Linked DNA regions of Homo sapiens: region 1 is linked to region 2. The links are contacts of gene promoters, found by promoter capture Hi-C in blood cells and fetal thymus (Javierre and others, 2016). All regions are on one chromosome and are shown on one strand. Each heading gives the region's core, a stretch centred on a gene start or on the middle of the fragment in contact. The rest is flanking DNA. Distances are from core to core; before and after follow the strand shown. Region 1 has its middle 29 kb from the start of VN1R4. Region 2 holds the start of ZNF534 (zinc finger protein 534).

Evidence for each region. The method cuts DNA at HindIII sites, captures the fragments that hold promoters and counts their contacts. A CHiCAGO score of 5 or more calls a contact.
Region 1: a fragment that was not itself captured here is called in contact with the fragment with the promoter of ZNF534 in region 2 in 1 of 17 cell types (M2 macrophages); the score reaches 5.2 in M2 macrophages.

What each region holds. Positions count from the first base shown.
Region 1 is chr19:53,294,368-53,299,596 of GRCh38, reverse strand. It overlaps the pseudogene FAM90A28P. Among named protein-coding and RNA genes, the nearest start is that of VN1R4, 29 kb to the right of the region's middle. RefSeq lists an enhancer at 3,689-4,888. The HindIII fragment of the contact is 1,754 bases long and covers 2,382-4,135 here.
Region 2 is chr19:52,427,333-52,432,855 of GRCh38, reverse strand. ZNF534 (zinc finger protein 534) reads right to left here and starts at 3,708. Exons shown (of 5, transcript NM_001143938.3): 1 at 3,612-3,708; 2 at 1,367-1,448. The coding sequence starts at 1,381. The HindIII fragment of the contact is 5,138 bases long and covers 1-4,947 here.

The sequences.
Region 1 (5,229 bases), core at 2,009-4,508, 870 kb before region 2:
TCCAGAACCCAGGCACCAGACAAGGAGCCTGGCCCCGTCCCCACCCAGACTTTCCAGAACCCCGCAAAGAAAGCAAGATTCAGCTCCTTCCAGACCCCTGCACTGAGAACTCAGCTCCCGGATGTGGGCGCTGTGCAGACACTCCAGCCTCCCCGCACTGCAACTGGACTTGGATCCAAACAGGCACCCGAGGCGACTGCACAGACAGCAGCCACCAAGACAGCAACCCTGCAGCCCAGAGTCAACCTCCAGCCCGCACCCAGCTCACCTTTCCTGGGCCCAGCCCAGGGCTGCCCCGTCCTCCAGCCTGGACCACCCATTCATGTTCCAGGGAGGCCCGGCAGTGTCACCTTCATGAGAGGGGACAAGGGACAGAAGAGCCCCAGGTTCAGAACGCCTCCCACATCCCGTCCTCCTGAAAACTCTGCTTCTGCTCAGAGCCCTCGCTTCTCAAGGCAGCCTGAGGGGCGGGGTCCCCAGGTCTCAACGAGTGTCCTCTATGAGGACCTTCTTGTCACTTCCTCCTCTGAGGACAGTGACAGTGACTGAGGCCCCCAAGGCAAGAAGACCCAGCTTCAAGCCCATGCGACTTGGAAGTGGCTGAAAGGCTGAGAAGGGGAGAGGCAGGAAGCAGCCCTGTGCGGGGTCAGCCCCTCCCTGGCAGCGGTGTCTGTTCAAACGTGGACCCCAGATACTATCGGGGATCAACGAACCTGCCTATTTACATTGTGTAAATTTAACCTGTATTAAAATGGGGCTGTTGAAAGTGTCCTATAGATTTCTTTTTCAATTACATACAATTATATGAGAAACTGAGTCAACATAAGCAAACAATGCTCCACTAGTAAAAGCTCTGAAACTCATCTAGGGAGGGAGCAAACCACTGAAATTTGAGTAATTCTGGGCAAAGGGCCCTTTGATGGTAGTGGAAAACGTCAGTGTCTCCTGACTCAAGAATATTTGACTGTGAAGGAGAGTTGTAGTGAGAAACGCTTAGCCTTGGAAAATGGGAAATTTTTTTTTCTTGGAAGAATGTGTTTTTTTTAAATCATTGAATTCAAACATTTAAGAAACTGTTCTTTTTTATATGGTATACATTTTTCCAGGACATCAAACAAGGGAAATACTCCATTTATTTTATGAAGCTACCTAGACTCTGATTTCCACTGTGGTAGAGAGGGCATCTCAGCTAGCGCATGTGTAAAGTTGAGGTACCAATATTCTCAGTGTTGGAGTTATTCAGTGGATTCAATAAGTTATGCAAAGCACGTCATGAATGGCACATGGTAAAATATATCTTACTATTATTATTATCATACCACAAGTAAACAATAGAGTAAATTCAAGTTTGTGAATGAATTTCATTTGTAATGATGTACTCTATTAGCCTTGGAACTTTTGTTATTAAAAGTCATTGTAAAATTCTGCTTGGTTAATTTCTTTCCATATGAATAAAATTCTCTGAACTATGACACGTTTTACAGGTGTTTTGAGTTTTCCTTTTCACCTCAGGCCAATTTCTTTACATTTCAATCATCGTGTTTCATTTACTTGAGCAAAGAGGACTGGGTGCCCAGAGTGTCACCTGCAGACCCGTAGCTTCTGAGAAACACAGACCCTCAGGCACAGCCCCACCCCCACCTGCTCAATCAGTAGCTGCAGCTTATATAGCAACCCCAGGTGTTTCACATGTGGGTTAAAGTGGGAGAAGCACAAACATAGACTGACTCTCAACTTGGTTGCACGTTGGAATCTCCTGGTGAGCTTCCCCCGCTGGCTGGGTCCCACCCTTGGAGAGAGTCATGTTCTAAGTCCCGTGTGAGGCTGGATATAGGGATGGGTGGACCCTTTGAGGTTAAGTCAAACATGGGTCAAGGTTAGGAAACACTGGAGGGAGAGGGCGAAGACAATGCTTCCCTAACCTGCCTCCTCCCGTTTTCACCTTGGGAGGAAACTCTCCTGAATCCAGAAAGATCAGAAGGCTCTGAGGGTGGGATTTCAGTCTCAGGAGATCGTCCCTGTCTCTCTAGGACCTGGTCCCTAAAAAGCAGTGGATGGAAGTCTCCAGGCTGCCTCTTGGATGGGGGCGGAAGCCATGAAATATAAAGAGTGATCTGGAAGCTCAGGTTGAACTCCTCCAGCGTGCTTTAGTAAGGTAATTTTTAAATATACGTTACGTGAGAGCCATCTCTTCAACTCCGGCCACCCAATTTGCTGTACAAACAGTTTCCCTGATAGAGAAATTACACTCTAGCAGGCTGCACCACAGGATCCCAGGCAGCCTGTGGGAAATGCGCGGGTGTAGATGGGGTGAGCATGGGGCCTGCCAGGGTAGAGGGAGGTTTCATCTTTTGTTTCTTCACCCTAAGTTCTGCGAAGCTTCCTTCTTCTGCTTGTACGTTCAGCAACCAGGGAGGGCCAGATACGGAGCCTTTCTTTTTCTGCCCACGCGTGCACCCATGACCCATGCTTATCCCCGGGGACTTTCAGCCTCCCCCGCACCTAGCCCACCCTCCCTGCAATGCACCACAGAGGCCAGAATGGAAACAGGGGCATGCATATCCAGCAGAGCTGTAGAAGTTTGAGTTCCCCACTTACAACAAATTCCAAGAATATTTAGTTTCTTCTTTAATGTTGACGAAGTCAGGATAGGGACAGAGGAAGAAACTGGGGTGCAGAGCAGGAGAGTGTCTGCGCTGGTAAGGAAGGCAGCAGCAAAGCTCGACCCTCCCAGTGCCACCTGCCTGCTGGCTGCTTAAGGCTCAAATACGGAAGCTAGAATGCTTTCAAGTCACCCTTGAATCTTCACTGTTCTGCCAGGAAAAGAATGAATAGTAAGCAAAGCACATTCAGTTGCTTGTTTAAATCCTTCTTCCCTTACATGAGCTTCACTAGCATGGAAGAGCAGGGAGGCTTCCTACTCCTCCTTGTTTCCAGCTTGATGAACACATGTACTCCATGACCACGTGCCTTCTCTTATCCCTCAACCCGTCCTTTCCTTTTCCAGAAAATCATTTTTCTCTCAGCATCCCACCATCATCAAGACTGTCATGAAATATGTAGGGCCTTCAAGCAGGAGGCAGAATCTTTGTTACATGGTCATGTCTGTCTTTTACCCCCAATGATGACAGTGTCAACATCTCTTAGAATGATTTCTTATACAACAATCCTTGAAAGGGTGCTTTGGAACAGGAGTGGACAAATGATGTCAAAAACATGAGGGCTACTCAAGGAAAATGACTCAAAAAGGTACACTCGGGCCGGGCGCGGTGGCTCACGCCTGTAATCCCAGCACTTTGGGAGGCCAAGGCAGGCAGATCACAGAACAGGCAGGACTATTACTTTCACTGGAAAGCTAAGGAACACGTAGATGGATAAAGCTACTGATTTGTCAAAATCCAAAATTTTAGAGCAAAGAGGGGGCTTGACCTTGGCAGGGTTGGTAAAGAGTGGTGGAGTTAAACTCTATGCAAGGGAGAATTTAACTGTCTTCTTCAAGTAATGCAGATGTATATAGAGTCATTTTAAGTCCTGTCCTCTTATTGTAGATTGGTGTTATTTTATTTTGTAACTTTGTAACAAGTTTACATTCATGGATAAAGATTTATAGAATATGCCAATACAAACTTCAAATAAAATTGAGATATCTTAACATAACATAGACGCAGAATGACCTTATAATTCTCTAGGAACTGCTCCATGACAAATCATATTTAAAGAATGCACAATTGCCTCTATCTTGAGATGGCAGCAGACATAAGATTTTGCTTTTATGCCAGAAATAAATTGGAACCTATCACAGAAATCACTGAACACTATGTCTTGCTCCAAACTATGGGAAATGAAACACCAATATGTGATAAAATCATACAAGGTAGAAACCTAATGTTAGTAATTTCAAATTATATACTTATCTCTATATTCATAATTGATACAAGTAAAAGTAATAGCAATAAAGCATGATTTCTGAAACATGTTAAGTGGAAGCCCCTTGTACAAATGGAATCTTTAACGTGTTAAATTTTGTGTATTTTACAAATCAAAATTGTACTGTGGAAATTAAAAGTTCCTCTTCAAAACTTCCCTTTTTGTTAATAATATTAAGTTCTAAGAATGATAGTCCCACTTAAAAGCTTCTTTCAAGTTTCCTTCATGTTTCATACTATTAACAAATCTTTTACCCTACTAATAACTCTTTGTTGTGCCCCGGGCAGTTGGTAAACACAGTAAAGAAATAAGTAATCCTATATCCCTGTACTGTAAACCAAGAGGCCTAACCCATATGTTTCCTGGCCTGTCCGGACAGGCCTAGACATGCCCAGGCATGTCCCAGCTTGCAGCCCAGGCTTCTTTCCTTATTTGGAAATGTTATTGTTTTCCTAGTTTCCTACAACCAACCCCATCCCTTTCTTTGTTCCCCATTGTGCCTTTACCTATTTAGTAAAGTTTTAAGTTTTTAGCCAATCGGTATCAGTCTAGATTGTGCAGTCCAGCTCCAGCCAACGGAGATAGGACGCAGCAGTAGGGGCCCAATGCGTTAGGAATAAGAATCCCTGCTTTCCTTTGTTTGGGGTGCTCTCATGGCAATCAGGCTTATAGGCAGCACCCTTCTGCAGAAGTAAAATTGCCTTGCTGAGAAATCTTTTGTTCAAGTACTCATTTTCTTTGCGACTCCCAGCTTTCATTTCCAGCAGTACACTGTGGGATTCATATGAGACTATGCTTAAACCAGAGAATACATCATTAGAAACTTTTGTGCCCAAGGGCTGCTCTCTGAAACCCAGTTTGTATGTTACCACTTCCTTAAATGCTGATTCTTTAACTAGAAGATGGAAAACAATCTGTCAGTATGAAGAGACTATGGATGTTTTCAGGAGGAGACAATCAGTTTCCACTAAGCATTCATGCACTAAGGATGAGAGAAAACATTCGTATTCCAGCAACTGCCATTTGGAGACACCCTTTCTGCACAGGATTAGGTGATTCCTCTTGACCTCTCCTATCTCTTTGAGAAGCATGGTGGTCTTGTAGTGCACTCTTAATAATTCTGAAAATTGAGTCTATAATTCTCCTAGGGTGGACTGAACAGTAGATTAATTTTGGAGCTAAAGTCCTTAAGCACATTACAAGTCAGTTTTCATTATCACTTGGATTAAACACCAACAATCAATGTCACTGCGGATTACACTAAATTGCATTATGTGACATCAGGGATTGGTGTAGGGTGTC
Region 2 (5,523 bases), core at 2,459-4,958:
GTTCGAGACCAGACTGGCTAACATGGTGAAACCCCATCTCTACTAAATACAAAAAATGAGCTGGGCATGGAGGTGTGCACCTGTAATCCCAGCTACTCAGGAGGCTGAGGCAGGAGAATGGCTTGAAGCCAGGAGGCAGAGGTTGCAGTGAGCCGAGATTGCATCATTGCACTCCAGCCTGGGTGACAGGGCGAGACCCTGTCTCAAAAAAAATAAATAAATAAATAAAATAAATAAAAAATGGTGAAAATCTGAAAACTGCGATGATAACAACAGCAATGGCTGAATAGAACACTTCCCATGTGATAGGCACTATTCTCAATGATTTACATGAACTAACTGGTACAGCAACAAAAGCCAATGAAAGAATAATCTGCTCCTATCTTACTAAAAAGACAACTCTTTCACATACACGCTAGCTTGCCCCAGGTGTGAGAACTGAAACAGCAGAGTAAGCAGCAGATCACAGGTGTCTGAGCATGAGAATCAAACCTAAAGAATCAGACAGTTAAGTAACAGATCAGCATCAAAAGTAAATTGACAGTTACCTAATTCAGTAAATTTAAAACAACTTCAAGGATTAAAAACATGGAATTGCCTAATAGTTCATTATATATGCATATATATAATCGATATCCCCATAATACATTACTATAATGTTCTTATAGCCATTGCCTCATTGCCTCTTATAGCCACTATCAGGTATGATGCCTCATATCATCATACATGATAATGTAGAAAAATTTGAACATCCTGATAAATAGATGTAATTTCAACTGATAAAAATATATATATATATAATGATGACATGCTATTTATAAAAACTATAGGTTTGCTCATCTGTGCACTCATGCAAACACATCACATGTACACACTTACACATATATATACTAACACTCATATACACTAGTACACATATACATTTATATGGCCGAGATCACAAAACCACACTCCAGCCTGGGCAACAGTGCGAGACTCTGTCTCAAAAAAAAAAAAAAAGGAATTCCACATGCAGCTTCTCTAGTCTTAGTCCACAGAACACTCACAGTGCATCCAGATGTGGCCCCTGAACAATCCCTGCTGCCCAACAGCACTGACACCACAAGGCCCACACCCCATCTCCATCCGTGTCTGGGTGTGAGCACTTCCCAGGACCATGCCCAGTGGAACCTCTTCCCAAGTTCATGTCATTGGGTCATAGGGAACTGGAATCTTAAGTGGAAGTGAAAGGGACTGGAAGAAGCCATGGGTAAGTGCAATGAAATGAGTCAGGCAGGATGCTTCAGAGTCAGAGATTAGCAACTCCAATGCCTGGCATTTCAGGAAGAAACAGAGACAGAACAATCCACTGAGAACATTACCTTACCTGAGTAAGGGCCATTCCTGACTTCCTTTCTTTCCTCTTCCGAGTTGCTTCCTTGCATAATATGTCTCTTTGAAAGTGAATCCTAGTATCAAAAATAATGCTGTTTAGGGCTTAGAATCAACACACCCACTTCCTGTGCCACAGCCACACAAAAAGGGAAGACTTCACCTTCTGGAAGGATGGTCCTCTGCTGCCTACTGTTGATCTCCCACAGGAAAATCAACAAGTGAGTTTTTTACTCCCTTCCTCAAAACTCTCTCCTGTCTCATGGTGAGCGACACACACACTGCAGCAGTGCAGAGCTGGGCTTGACTAAGCTCCCCTTAAAAGCACAGACTTGGCCGGGTGCGGTGGCTCCCACCTATAATCCTAGCACTTTGGGAGGCCGAGGTGGGCAGATCATGAGGTCAGGAGTTTGAGACCAGCCTGGCCAACATAATGAAACCCTCGTCTCTACTAAGGATACAAAAAATTAGCTGGGCGTGGTGACACGGGCCTGTAATCCCAGCTACTCAGGAAGCTGAGGCAGGAGAATCCCTTGAACTTGGGAGGCAGAGGTTGCAGTGAGCCGAGATCGCACCATTGCACTCCAGCCTGGGTGACAGGGTGAAACTCCATCTTAAAAAAGAAAAAGAAAAAAAAAAGGCCATGTGTGGTGGTTCACGCCTGTAATCCCAGCACTTTGAGAGGCCAAGGCAGGTCGATCACGAGGTCAGGAGTTCAAGATCAGCCTGGCCAAGATGGTGAAACCCCGTCTCTCCTAAAAATACAAAATTTAGCTGGGTAATGGCAGGCACCTATAATCCCAGCTCTTAGGAGGCTGAGGCAGGAGAATTGCTTGAACCCAGGAGACAGAGGTTGCAGTGAGCCAAGATTTTAACACTGCACTCCAGCCTGGGTGACAGAGTGCGACTCTATCTCAAAAAAAAACAAAAAAAAAGCACAGACCTCACCCTGACCAAAGCTCATGCAGAGCACAGGCCCCTCAGCCCTCTGTGGATCACAGTGCTCAATTCTAGATATAGACTATAGTAGAATCCTTTTATCGATGTGCACTATGTTCCAAGAGCCCCAATGGATGCCTGAAACCTCCATCAGTACTAAACCCTATTAATTCCCCTTAAAGACTCCATGTTACAGCTTCTCACTGGCATATCCAAATTGTCAGCATCAAGGCCGGGCGCAGTGGCTCACGCCTGTAATCCCAGCACTTTGGGAGGCCGAGGCAGGTGGATCACCTGAGGTCAGGAGTTCAAGACCAGCCTGGCCAACATGGTCAAACCCTGTCTGTACTAAAAATATAAAAACTAGCCGGCCGTGGTGGTGGACACCTGTAATCCCAGCTACTCGGGAGACTGAGGCAGGAGAATTGCTTGAACCCAGGAGACAGAGGTTGCAGTCAGCCAACACAGTGCCACTGCACTCCAGCCTTGGCGTCAGAGTGAGACTCTGTCTCAAAAAAACCCAAAAAAAAAATTGTCAGCATCAATCAATACTCATGTGCCTGGAGGGCATTGTTAAGGGAAAAAAAAAAGGGTTACATGAAAAAAAAGCACTGAGATACCATAAAAGTGGATCTCATCCAAAAGACTATTGGCCAAGTACGGTGGCTCATGCCTGTAATCCCAGCACTTTGAAAGGATGAGGCGGGCAGATCACCTGAGGTCAGGAGTTCGAGACCAGCCTGGCCAACATGGTGAAACCCCATCTCTACTAAAAATACAAAATTAGAGAGGCATGGTGGCGTATGCCTGTAATCCCAGCTACTCGGGAGGCCCAGGCGGGAGAATCGCTTGAATCCGGGAGGCGGAGTTTGCAGTGAGCCGAGATCACGCCATTGCACTCCAGCCTGGGCAACAAGAGCAAAACTCAGTCTCAGGAAAAAAAAAAAAAAAAAGACTATTAAGTGACTAACGAGCAGATACAGTCTAAAGTCAGCCCTTGGTATCTCTGGGGTACACATCAATGGATTCAATCAACTAGACTGAATAATTACAAAAAATGAAAAAAAAATAGCAAAGTGCCAGGATTACAGGCGTGAGGCACCGCGCCCGGCCTAGAAGCCTCCAAGCGGTTTTAACACGCAGGTAAGCGACCTCCAGACTCTCTAGAGAATGTCTGAATTTACTTGGAGTGGATAGAGCGGTGCCGGGACTTCAAGGTCTGCATGAGCCCTCAGATCGCGGGTGTAGAAGCACACAGGAACTGGGCAGCCTAAATTTAATCTAGACAAAGGCAAACTCACGAGTGGCGGCTTAGACAGTCTTTCCGCGCAGTCGGGTGCCGGGTCTACAGGAAAAAGCGCGCGAAACGTTCACTCCATGATCTCGACTTCCGGGTCTGCAGGAAATTGCGCGCGCATCGTACAGGCCGGGCCCGGGGCCGAGGGCAGGGCCGGGACAGGGCGGGCTCAAGGCGGGGTCTATGCTTCTGTCAGTCTGACTCAGCGATCCTGTTTTAGGGTTTTGGAGGCGAGATCTGCTCAGCACTTCTGTAAACAGATCTGTAAACAGATCTTGCTGGGGCAGAGCAAAATCGGTTGGTGATTAGATTAGATCCACGAGAATTCCTGTTATTACAATAAATTTTAAGTCCCAACTACTCTGGAAGCAGAGAGAGAAGAGAGCGTGAAAAGAAAGCAAAAAGAAAGACAAGGCCGGGTGCGGTGGCTCACTCCTGTAATCCCAGCACTTTGGGAGGCCAAGCCGGGCGGATCACGAGGTCAGGAGATCGAGACCATCCTGGCCAACATGATGAAACCCCCGTCTCTACTAAAAACACAAAAATTAGCTGGGTGTGGTGGTGGGCGCCTGTAGTCCCAGCTACTCGGGAGGCTGAGGCAGGAGAATCACTTGAACCCGGGAGGCAGGGTTGCAGTGAGCCGAAATCGTACCACTACACTCCAGCCTGGCGATGGAGTGAGACTCCGTCTCAAAAAAAAAAAAAAAAAAGAAAAGAAAGAAAGAAAATAAGACTAGAGAGAAATAGTGCAACAAAGAAAAGAATGTAGGTGTCTGTGCCTGTGTGTGAGAAAAAGGGAGAGACAAGAAAGAACGAAAGAAAGACATTTTTTTTGTTTGTTTGTTTGTTTGAGAGTTTCGCTCGTTGCCCAGGCTGAAGCTCAATGATGAGATCTCGGCTCACTGCAACCTATGCCTCCCAGGTTCAAGTGATTCTCCTGCCTCAGCCTCCCGAGTAGCTGGGATTACAGGTGCGCACCACCACACCCGACTAATTTGTTGTATTTTTAGTAGAGACGGGGTTTCACCATGGCCAGGCTGGTCTTGAACTTCTGACCTCAGGTGATCTGCCCGCCTCGGCCTCCCAGAGTGTTGGGATTACAGGCGTGAGCCACTATGCCCAGCCAGAAAGACAAATTTTAGGAATTAAGACACTTTGGAACTATCTGTGAAGGGGATGGAAGCTAAAGTGTGAAATGCTAAACCCTGCCAGAGTGGAATGCGCAGTATCATGCCAATGCCCCATAGAATAGAAATACTTTTTTTTTTTTTTTTGAGATGGAGTCTTGCTCTGTCGTCCAGGCTGGAGTGCAGTGGCACAATCTCGGCTCACCGCAAGCTTCGCCTCCCGGGTTCACACCATTCTCCTGCCTCAGCCTCCCGAGTAGCTGGTACTACAGGCACCCGCCACCATGCCTGGCTAATTTTTTTTGTATTTTTAGTAGAGACTGGGTTTCACCGTAGTCTCGATCTCCCGACCTCATGATCCGCCCGCCTCAGCCTCCCTAAGTGCTGGGATTACAGGCGTGAGCCACCGCGCCCGGCTAGAAATACTTTTCATTTACATTCCCCATTCACTCCAGAGGGTGAGGTCAACCCTGTGCTCAATTCCAGAAACTTTCCTAGGGACACCACCTTGGGCATAGAGGACTAAGGTCAGTGTGAAGTCAGGTCACCAACTCTTTTTAAAAAAGCCAATAACTTTAAAAATAGGTATAAATTATTTAGTTTAAGACTTTTTTTTTTTTTTTAAAGACAGGGAATCAACCTGTGACATCCAGGCTGGAGTGCAGTGGCACAATCATAGCTCACTACAACCTTGACTTCCTGGGGTCATGGGCACCTCCTACCTCAGTCTCCCGAGTAGCTGGAAGTACAGGCCTGTGACATTGGACTGTGCTAATTTTTTAGTTTTAT